Linked DNA regions of Homo sapiens: all the other regions are linked to region 3. Evidence: promoter capture Hi-C in 16 types of primary human blood cells and fetal thymus (Javierre and others, 2016). All regions are on one chromosome and are shown on one strand. The core of a region is centred on a gene start or on the middle of the fragment in contact, and the rest is flanking DNA. Distances in the headings are between cores, read along the strand shown.

What was found. Contacts are between HindIII fragments. The CHiCAGO score rates a contact against its expected background, and 5 or more counts as called.
Region 1: a contact is called between a fragment that was not itself captured here and the fragment with the promoter of RXRG in region 3, in 5 of 17 cell types (naive CD4 T cells, activated CD4 T cells, non-activated CD4 T cells and 2 more). The highest score is 7.4, in naive CD4 T cells.
Region 2: a contact is called between a fragment that was not itself captured here and the fragment with the promoter of RXRG in region 3, in 1 of 17 cell types (naive CD4 T cells). The highest score is 5.1, in naive CD4 T cells.

What each region holds. Positions count from the first base shown.
Region 1 is chr1:165,562,905-165,566,518 of GRCh38, forward strand. LRRC52 (leucine rich repeat containing 52) reads left to right here. Exons shown (of 2, transcript NM_001005214.4): 2 at 601-1,053. The coding sequence ends at 920. The region is part of intron 3 of LRRC52-AS1 (LRRC52 antisense RNA 1); the gene reads right to left. Among named protein-coding and RNA genes, the nearest start is that of LRRC52-AS1, 17 kb to the right of the region's middle. The HindIII fragment of the contact is 6,812 bases long and covers 1-3,614 here.
Region 2 is chr1:165,523,428-165,526,991 of GRCh38, forward strand. All of the region lies in intron 3 of LRRC52-AS1 (LRRC52 antisense RNA 1), which reads right to left. Among named protein-coding and RNA genes, the nearest start is that of LRRC52, 19 kb to the right of the region's middle. The HindIII fragment of the contact is 1,508 bases long and covers 1,024-2,531 here.
Region 3 is chr1:165,443,036-165,446,717 of GRCh38, forward strand. It overlaps RXRG (retinoid X receptor gamma), which reads right to left and starts at 2,091. Exons shown (of 10, transcript NM_006917.5): 1 at 1,810-2,091. The coding sequence starts at 1,858. The HindIII fragment of the contact is 7,493 bases long and covers 1,055-3,682 here.

The sequences.
Region 1 (3,614 bases), core at 992-3,491, 120 kb after region 3:
GTGAGCGGGTAGAACACACAGTAAACATTTCAGGAGAATCTCGTCTCCTGAAGCCTATAGTTGAGTGGCTTGCAATGCTCTCGGGGGATGCTAGTGATGCCAGGTTGGACTCAGCTACTGCTAAAGAGAAAGGGACAAGGTGAAGGGAAAGTCGGGATGGAGGCAAGGGAGGGGCAAGAGGGAGGTGACTGGTAAAGAACAGAGAGATGTCAACACTCCATGGCAATCTTGCCTAACCTTCCAACCTCCCCACCCCTGTTGTGGCCTCTCCTTCCTTGAGCATCCTTAAGAAGCATTTTCATGGCCTGAATGCAGCAAAGCCTGGGGACAAGGAACAGTCCAGGCCCAGTACTTCTCAAACTCCAATGTGCAACAGATACCCTGAAGGTCTTGTTGAGATGCAGATTTGGATTCAGGAGGTCACAGGTGGGTCCTGAGATTCTGCATTTCTAACAAGGTCCAGGTGATGTCGATGCTGCTGGCCCACAGACCACACTTGGAGCACTGAGGGTGCAGATGGTCCCTCCTGATCCCCTTTGGCCTTAGGACGCTGGGAGTCACGCTGTTTCAGCACCCTGCCTGCTGTGTTTTTCTTCTTAGATGATCTAAATGCCACATGTGTGGAGCCCACAGAGCTGACAGGGTGGCCCATCACCCGGGTGGGGAACCCACTCCGATACATGTGCATCACGCACCTGGACCACAAAGACTACATCTTCCTGCTGCTCATCGGCTTCTGCATCTTCGCCGCGGGAACTGTGGCTGCCTGGCTCACAGGTGTGTGTGCTGTGCTCTACCAGAACACCCGCCACAAGTCGAGTGAAGAAGATGAGGACGAGGCCGGGACTAGGGTGGAAGTCAGCCGGCGGATTTTTCAAACCCAGACGAGCTCGGTCCAGGAGTTCCCTCAGCTTATTTAGTTGCCAGAGACCACTATCTTATGTGCCTCCCCCAGGCTCCCTGCTTTCTCTCTTGCCCTCCCCATCCCACCACCTTGGAGCTGTCATAGAGATTGAAACCTTCTAGTAAAATAAATAAAATCTCTGATGGCCATTTCACAGGTTGGTCCCTTCCCACTGCACCAGCCCGAGGATGATTCCTTGAGCTCAGCAGGATGGGGTAGAACAAAATCTAGAAACGTTGTTGGATGCACCTAAATACCGAGAAAGTCTACCCCAAAAGTAAGCCATCTCATGTTTAATAAGTACATATTATGTCCCCAAACTAAGTGCTGGAGGGATGGATACAAGGAATACAAGATTTAAGATCTTCCCTAAAGAGCAAACAATTTAAGTGGAAGTGAAGATTAATATTAATCAAATGGAGAAAAGTATAAGACAATGATAAGAACTAACATTAATGGAATGTGTCCATCCATGTACCATCTTCACACTCCATCTTGTAGTTATCACAGCCATCCTATAATATTGATATTATTTTACCGTGAAAATTTGAGGCCTGAACAAGTTAAACAACTGATTGAGGTCACCCAACTGGTAAGTAACACAGCCTCCCAAAGTCCATGTTCTTTCCTTTACATGAAATATAAATATTTAGCAGCACAACCAAGGGTTCATCATGTAAGCCTGGCCACACAAAGGTGGCCACCACCCAGCGGGTCCATCCCAAGTACCCAGCATTGTGCCCAGCTTTATGCACATTTCCCCCTGGGCTAATGTGCGTGACAACAAGGTCAGGTGGTCATTGTCACCATCGTTTTCCTGAGGCATGGAGAGATGAAGTCACCAGCTCAAGATCACATAGTTGGTAAGAGCAGAGCAACTGCTGGACCCATGCCAAAGTCCATGCCCTCTCACTACAAGCTACTGTTTATCACTGAGCACTAAACAGAATAGCCAAGTGTACACAAGCATGTCCTGCGCTCAGGGACATGTGGCAAAGGGAGTGAAGAGAGGGTTGGCTCAACCCAGGCCCCAAGACCCATTCCAGGTTTTCCTTTTTGCTCTACTCAGATCAAATTATACTCATGTTCAAGACTCAGATCAAACCCCCACCCATGAAACTAGCTGTCTCTAAACCCCCAACCAGACCCGTTTTTACATCTGCACTTCCACTGTGAATTGCATGTGACTCTAATCACCACTTGCCCTCCAGTTTGTTTGGTGCAATGCTTAAGAGCATGGGTCCAGACTCAGGAGCTGGATCTCTATCCCCAGTTCTGCACTTAGCACTGTGTGAACTTGGGCTTCCTACTTATAATGACCTTGAGAGCAGAGACCATTTGCCTTCAGTGTTCTCTATTGACACAGCATATAGAGTGATAACTTCCACAAAATAAGTGTTTATTACTGCATTCTATTTAAATCCCAACCCACCAATCATTCCTACTTTGTTATCCTGAACTAAGAGTGACCATGGGCAAGTTATTTAACTTTTGTGTGTCTCAGTTTCTTCATCTGTAAGTGGCAATCACTGCAGTGCTTATATAGGGATATTTTGAGAATACAATGAATATCAATTATAATAAGAATTTATTTTAATACACTTTTTATTATGGAATAACTTTGGACTAAGCTACAGAGGTAGCACAGAGTTCCCACATACCTCTCACCCAGTTCCCCCTAACGTTATCTCACATTACAGTGGTACATTTATCAAAGCTGAAAAATTTATATTGGAACACTATTATTAACTAAACTCCACACTTTATTGGTATTTCATTAGTTTTTTTTTCCACAATGCCCTTTTCTCTGTTCCAAGACCCAATCTAGGATACCACGTTTGCATTTAGGATATTTTTAATATAATAACACGTCTAACTTTATTGGGCACTTCTATATGCTAGGCATTGTTCTAAGTGCATATACATACACACAAACACATACACATACACACACAAACACACACATCTCAACTAATTGAATCATCACAACAATCCTATGAGGTAAGCATTATTCCCATCAGATCCTGAAACTGAGGTTTAAGAGGGTAAGTAACTTGCTAAACATTACACATCTAGTACAACCAGAAGTGAAACCAGCTGTGGCTGACTATAGACTGTTTCCTCCAAATCACTAATCAATATTGTCTCTCAGGAATTTAAACTACCAAGAAAGTCTTGGCAAAAGAAATGTGAATTGCAGCTTTTCATGATAGCTTCTCCCCTAAGATTTCGCCTGGATCTTCCAACAATAAGTAATTCCACAAAAATGGGCTGAGCACCTACTCTGACAAGGCCTGGGAAGATCACAGTGAACGTGGCAAAGTGGTGAAAGCTCAAGGAGCTTCCAGTTCAGTTTGGTGGAGAAACAAGAAAAAAGTCCATTTCAAGACAGAGTGGTAAGTGAAGGGCCGGCACAGTATTCTAAGGGGACCCAAAGGAAGGGCGCCTCAACCAGGAGGCAGTAGGGCATCCTGGAGGGCTTCTCAGAGGAAGAGGCATCTACACTGAGGCTTGAAAGTTGAGTTGAGATTCACCAGACAAAGTGGTAAAGTGGATGTGGGTGACAAAAAGACATCCTAAGCAACAAGAACTGCATCTACAAAGGCCTGGAAGTGAGGAAGAGCCTGGCATGCCATTATAACTGGAATATAGAGTATAAGGGAAGGAAGAAAAGAGAAATAATGTTAGAGAGAGAAGCAAGGCCAGATCC
Region 2 (3,564 bases), core at 528-3,027, 80 kb after region 3:
TAATTAAGCATGGTATGGTACAATGGAAATTTCCTTACATTTGCAATAGGGAGACTAGCATTATTCTTTCTGAAATGTTACTGACCAGCCATGTGGCCTTAGAAGAAAATCTTTTTTATTTTTTTAGACATGAAATCTCACTCTGTCACTCAGGCTGGAGCACAGTGGTGTGATCATAGCTCACTGCAGCCTTGAACTCCTGGACTCAAGTGATACTCCCACCTCAGCCTCCCAAGTAGCTGAGACTACAGCCATGCATCACCATGCCCAGCTAATTTGCTTTTATTTTTTTAGAGATGGAGGTCTCACTATGTTGTCCTGGGCTAAGGCAGTTCCCTCCACCTCAGCCACCCAAATAGCTGGGATCACAGGTGCAAGCCACCACACCCAGCAATTTCTTATTACTTTGGTTTCCTTTTTTTTTTAATCTGCGAAAGAGGGAATAATATTAATACCAATTTTCATGGGTAAAGGATTATACCATGAAGATTAAACAAGGCAATATCTGTATGGTAAATTGCTATAATTGTACTAATTATTTTCTCTTCCCTGTATCTACACCCTTTGCCAGGTGAAATTTCTCTATCAAAAGGAATGGAGTACATTTCCCCACACCTTGGCACGGAATTCATGTGACTTGCTTTGGCCATTATATGAGACCTTGCAATGTTTGCTTGCTTTCTTGTGCCTCTTCTATCTTTTCTTTCATTACCATGAGAACATGCCTAGGTTAGCTTCATGAAAGATAAAAGGCACATGGATCAGAGCTGAGTCCCCCAGGTCATCTGATAGCTCAGATCAATTGACAGCCCCAAACCCCCAAGTATGTGAATAAGCCTAGCCAAAATCAGCAGAGTCATGTAGCAAACCTCTAGACTTACGAGCAATAAACCCATATTGTTGTATGCCCCTGTGATTTCATAGTTGTTTGTTACACAGCATTATTTTGACAACAGATAACCAATAGTCTGGGAGATTAGGCTCCCACAAACTGTAAAGTATTACACAAATGTAAACTATTAAAGCTTAAGGATGGCAGAAAAATATATATGTATCCAAGGGCTCCCTTGGTCTATGAGATATTAGAGCCTATACAAAATCTCATTAAATCCTGTTTCAGAGAGTCATGGGATCCCAGTTCGTGTTGGACAGGACATTAGAGAAGATCCAGTCTTATCATTCTACTTGTGTATGAAAACTATTCTCTTCTCAGTAACATAGATTCTCTTTTGTCTGTACCAACAGACTTGTTCCTTCTAGCACTTCTATGCTCTAACAGTTACAAAAGACATCATCTTTAAATCCTGCCGTCTCTCTAGCAATCCCTGTGCACACAACCCAGGAAGCTGGGTCTGGTTCCATCCCGCTCATTTGGCCACTTCTCTGTGTTGACATCTGTCAGTTATGCTCTGATCATGCTGCAATTTGCAATTTTTCCAGATGCTTTCAACATGCGGCCACTTTGACAAGCTAAAAGCTGCTAATGCTGCATCATTTATCACATTTTCCCATGTATTACATTAATCTTAAAGACCCAGCTTAATGCACACAAGGACATCCTCCCTGAATACAGAAGGGCTAGTCTACAAGTTTCATAAAATAAGCATCCTCCCAGATCTCCAAAGGAATAAAAAGCCACAAGAATAAATTGGAAGAGAAACCAGGCAAGCTGTTTTGTATTTTCCAAAGGAATGAGGAAATTATTTAGCCTGATTTCTCTTTCAGGCATCTCACACATTGTTATTGCTGAACAAATACTTATTATTCTCTGAACAATGAGGTAATTCGAGATGGACCTTTTCTTCCCTAAAAGGAATACGGAGTCTTTCCAGGTCCCATTTCTGCATCCTGGATGGTATCTTCACCTTAGCTGCTGAAGGATCCTTTTTTCTCTAACCTAGAATAAGGCAGGAGGCAGAGTGCCTGTCTAGAAAAGTGACAAATCAGACATGACATACATATAGACCCATTACTTCTGTCATATTTCTCCTCTTAACTTTTCTCAGCAATTAAGGTTTCCATGAGCCTCCCACTCCTTTTCAAATCCTGCTCGTGAGGCAGTTGTAATTAAATCTCCTTAATTTCCCAGTGCTGCTTCTTCATAAAATAACTTTATCTTAGAAAAGTTTCCCTTCTAAATTTCCCCAAACACTCTTTCCTAACTAGGGCTGTGACGGAAAAAAATCTTTTCCTTCCTTTCTTCTAAGTCTAAATTCAAGTCAAGCACTACCTCTTGCAGGAAGCCTTCCCTGACAACCTAACCCAGCCTCATTTCCAGGCCCTTTCTCTGGACTCCCATAGCTTCTTATACACAACTCTATTATAATATTTACCACACTGTCTTGTAATCATCAGTGCCCTATTGTCTCCCACACTCAGCTTGTGCAAACAGAACAGGCCATGCCTCAATGGACTTTGCATCCATGGAGCCAGTTTTGCCAGTAGAATACGAGAGGAGAAACACTGACCAGTTACTTATCCACCCTCACAACAACTATTTTGTTTCCCTTGAGAGTGCTGTCAATGTGCTAAGCTTAATTAGGACACAGCCTTTGTTCCTACCTTGTTAGCATCACAAAAAGAATAAGATGTCATGATTTACCTGGTGATGAGCTTCATGGAATCTTCTGAAATCGTCAAATAACGTATCAAGTAATCTTTGAGCACCTGACATGGGGCCAGATTTGTACTAACCACCACAGTGGGAAGGGAGCAGTAAGAAGGATATAAAACTAGGTTTCAGATCATAAGAAATACATTATCTCGTTAGAGATTTAAACATATGTGTGTAAAACACTAACTTTACATCACAGTATATAAGTGTTATTTGAGTCACATAGACAATCATAGCTAGTTAAAGAATTCAGGCCGGGCGCAGTGGCTCACGCCTGTAATCCCAGCACTTTGGGAGGCCGAGGAGGGTGGATCACGAGGTCAGGAGATCGAGACCATCCTGGCCAACATGGTGAAACCCCGTCTCTACTAAAAATACAAAAATTAGCAGGGCCTGGGGGCGGGCGCCTGTAGTCCCAGCTACTTGGGAGGCTGAGGCGGGAGAATGGCGTGAACCCGGGAGGCGGAGCTTGCAGTGAGCCGAGATCGCGCACTGCACTCCAGCCTGGGTGACAGAGCGAGACTCCCTCTCAAAATAACTAAATAAATAAATAATAAAATAAAAAGAATTCGGAGAGGGAGAAATTACTGGAAAAGGATGAACGCTTTTTAAAGCAGCTTTGCAAAAGCAGCGAGTGTTGGACCTTGAAGGAGGGTAAGATCCCAGCAGAGGGCAGAGAAGCAGGCGCCGCCCTTGCCAGGAACAGCGTAAACAAGGGCGCCGAGCAGGATCTGCACAGTCTGTTTAGATGTAAAGAATAATGAGTAGACTCGCCCGGCTAGGATGAAGGCCCTGTGATGAGAATCATGGGAAATTAGGTTCCAAAGCCTGGCCAAATTATCTTCATTTTTTTCCCCCAATAAAAAGAACTGCCCAAGTCACCTACTTCTAAGAGACCCCATCGTATCCTTGTCCTGAACAGGAAATGTGCACTTAAGCAGGGAATGTGC
Region 3 (3,682 bases), core at 841-3,340:
CTTCTTTTGAGCCTCAGTTTACACATCTATAAGATGAGAGCCTAAGATGCTGTTTCAGGTCCTTAGGATGCTAACATTCCAAGATTCCAGCCCCCATGGAATTTTAACTAGATCTTCTTTCTCTGGCTCTTACTTTAGTTCTCTCCCTAAATCCTTCTAGCTTCAACCCTTTTATTCACCCCAACTGTCTCCAAGGGTCTCTTTGGCATTAATGAAGCCACAGTCTCACAGACCTTGGGGGGCCCACGAATCTGGCTGAAAATGAGCATGCACCTCTTACAAATGAACTAAGATGTAAAGGAAAAAGCAATTCTCAGCTCTGAATGGGACTGAGGTGGGAATTGAGGAGGCTTTTCACATCTGGAGCCCAACCATAGACTAGAGATCAAATGCCCAGGTCACAGCATTGGCCACCGCTCTCACTCTGTCATCAGACTGGCCCAAAGAACTTGAACATCACCTCGGGAACATTTCCATGGCCCTCACCCCAAGTCCAAGTACAACCTACGTTTGCTATTACACACATCATGCAGTATTATAATGTGCCTGTGTAACAAGCCTGCCCCAGTCCCAAAGGGCAGAGACTGTGTCTCATTCATATTTGTATTCCCAGTGCCCAACACCATGCCTGCCTCATAAAAACTACCCTGAATGAATGTGCAAACTCCCAGGTCTAACACCTCCTGGTGACAGAGATCACTTCTACCTTGCAGTGTGTCACCATGCCTCCCAGGGGGTTCTGCCCAGCCAAGTTAGGCAAGCTTTAGTCCCAAGCCTTCAGATGAATTGGTCCACGGAGGAAGTCTGGAGAGCAGGGACTTTTCAATTTTCAAAACCTTATAAGAATTTCTGCTGTCTTGCCTGCCAGAATCTTTCTTTGGCTCCCAGCAACATAAGCTGCATGCCTCCAACTGACAAGCGACAGGCCAGTTGGTCAGCTGTTGCTTCCATTTACTCAGAGCTGGGCGGCTGTACTGTTTCTGTCACTAAATCAAGGGATCCTTGGGACGGATGTGCTTGGGCGTTAAGGCAGCCTGAGGACCTAGTCTCCGGAAGCTTCTGTGAAGTGTGACTGGGCTGCCCTGCCTGGCACGGTGACTTGAATCTTCAGTTTGCCAATTCTCTAAGAGCCCCAACCCCCCATCCCCAGATCTCTACCCCCAGAGTGGAAGTGATTGCAGCAACTCTTGCAGTAGAATTGGGGGCAGCAGCAGGGGAGGAGAGAAGAGGCTATTAGCAAATCAAAGGAAAGAAAACAGGGGAAGGAAAACACAGTAGCAAATTAAAGCACTATGTTTTCTTTTTAAAAATCCAATTAAAGGGAAATCTGCTTTTGAGTAAAACAATCATGCCCTTGTTACAAAGTATCCCAGGAACCCTCAAGATAGGCAAAACCTTTTTAATCACATTTTTTCTCATTACAAGTTGGCTAATAGGAACATCATAGTAATTCCCCGTTAACTCTTCCACTTTTCACACCCGCACAAACACACTGGGTTATAACAATGCTCTTATTCTATCTTTGTCTCAGACACATTCTCAAGCATGTTGGTTTACTCTCTCCTTAGAATATCCCCGTATCCTCATTCTGATATGCAAACGTATCCTCACCTACAGACCATTCTTTCCTCCTCTCCTCTCTCATGCACGCGTGCACACACACGCTGAAACGCTATATACACACTATATATGCATATAAACATATATGTTCTCCTTTTAATTCAATACTAATCCAGTCATTCGTATTTCCCAATTTCTTCTCAGTCTCTCATACAGGTCCACGCAGTGAAGCCCAAGGGAGATACTTACCTCCATAGCCTGCGGGAAACTTCATGAAGTGAGAATAATTTCCATACATGTTTACTCGTCAGTTCATGTTCCTCTCCTGTGCAGCTTCTAAATATTACCGCCTCTCTCGGCTCCCAGGCACAGCCCGGCTTTCTTCAACTTGGGCTAACAAGAGTGGTCATCGCTTCCTAGCAGCCCGGGGAGCACAGGCTGGGCCAGCCCTCTGGGATTAGTCAGGAATCTGCCTCTAGATCGGAGAGTCCACATAGTGCGTTTGAGACGGCTGTGGCGGCAGCAGCTGGTGCCTGTCAGTAATCACGCATAATGCTGCCGCCGCCGCCGCCGCCGCCGTCACCGCTACTCTTGCCACCGCCGTCGCTGCTGCTTGAGATCCTGTTGCTAGTTTGATTAACTCAGGGTTGGGCTGCTGCGTGCGACTCTTCCAGCTCCCGGCGCGTCCCCAGAGGTCCCTACCGGGTGGCACGATCTATTATCTAGGAAGCCAATCGATGTATGACCGCCCGGTGTAGGTCAGGAGAGAGGCGGGAGACGGCAGGGGATGGAAGACTCTTTAGGTGCCTGTTCCTTGACTTACATCCACAAAAATCAATGGGATTTTATTAAAATGCATTTTCTCATTCGAACTTCTATCTGTCCAATGTACTTGGTATTTGATCTGTGAAAGGAGGAGGGGGTGGGGTTCAAGAGAGAACAGGGCCCTTTCAGAAGCACAAGATTAGAAAAGCGTGATACTCAATCTCCAGCTACGGAAAACTAAAATAGAGTAGCCCTTAAGTTGAGGTGGGCCTCTCCTGCTTGGGTGGCCGGAAGCATTTATCTGTGCTCTAACAATGGGAGTTTGACAAGTGCAGCTGGAGCCAGAGCTCACTCAGGTGGAAAACTTACAGGTAGGGAGGAGGGGTTGGCTTGATGTGGAGGTCTTTCTCTGCATTTATTTTATATACCATTGTTATCCTGCCGCCTGTTCAAAAACACCACTGGGTCCTCACTAACACAGAGCCTGTCTTGTGTGGAACTGACCCGAGATCAAAGAATCTAAGCACCCCGTTGATGTTTGGGTCTGTCATACAGTTTTCGTGACAAGTCACCGCTCAGCCTATACTTGAACACCTCCAATAATGGGGAGCTCACCACTTTCTCATTCCATTTCTAGATAGTTTTCACCACAAGAAAGTTTCTTATAGAGATAAAATCTGCTCCTTTTCCCTACAGCTTCTGCCCACAGGTGCTAGACTGCTCCCAGGGGCCACACAAGAGAAGCCTGAAAGACAAAAAAGTCTTTCACAGTGGGATCCTCTGCAAATCCTGAGATTGATCTGCTGTGCCCATAATCCCCCTTTCCCTAGGCATCTCTGGCTCTTTCAGTAATTCTATGTATCACCAAGGGTTCATGTCTATTCCCAACCTATCCTTTTTCTAATAATGTACTTCAGTTTACATAGATACCCTCACAGTGAGGAAGGGGGTTGGCCAGACTTGGATGCAATACTCCAGATATGGTCCAAACCTTTTCCTCATGGTATATGTGTTGGCACGGTGATGGGGTGCTGTCAACATACCCATTGAAGGTCCGTTTCATGGGCTGAGCTCTGTTGGGCTGGAAAAAAGATAAGAGATTTTCTCCTGATGCAGCATAAGACATAGAGAGCCAGAGAGGTAAGTCAAATCAGGGTCCCAGAGTAAAAAATCAAGATTCAAATGCTAGGAGAAGCCAAAACAAAAACGTAGAATAAAAGACCAGAGTCAGGAACAAAGTCATGATGACAAAGGAGGAGGCCAAAATGGGGAATCAAAGCAAAAGCATGTCACAAAGGAGGAAGAAATATCCAGGCCTTCACTGTAAAGAGCTTTGGAGAGCCCAGAGCTGCCTTGA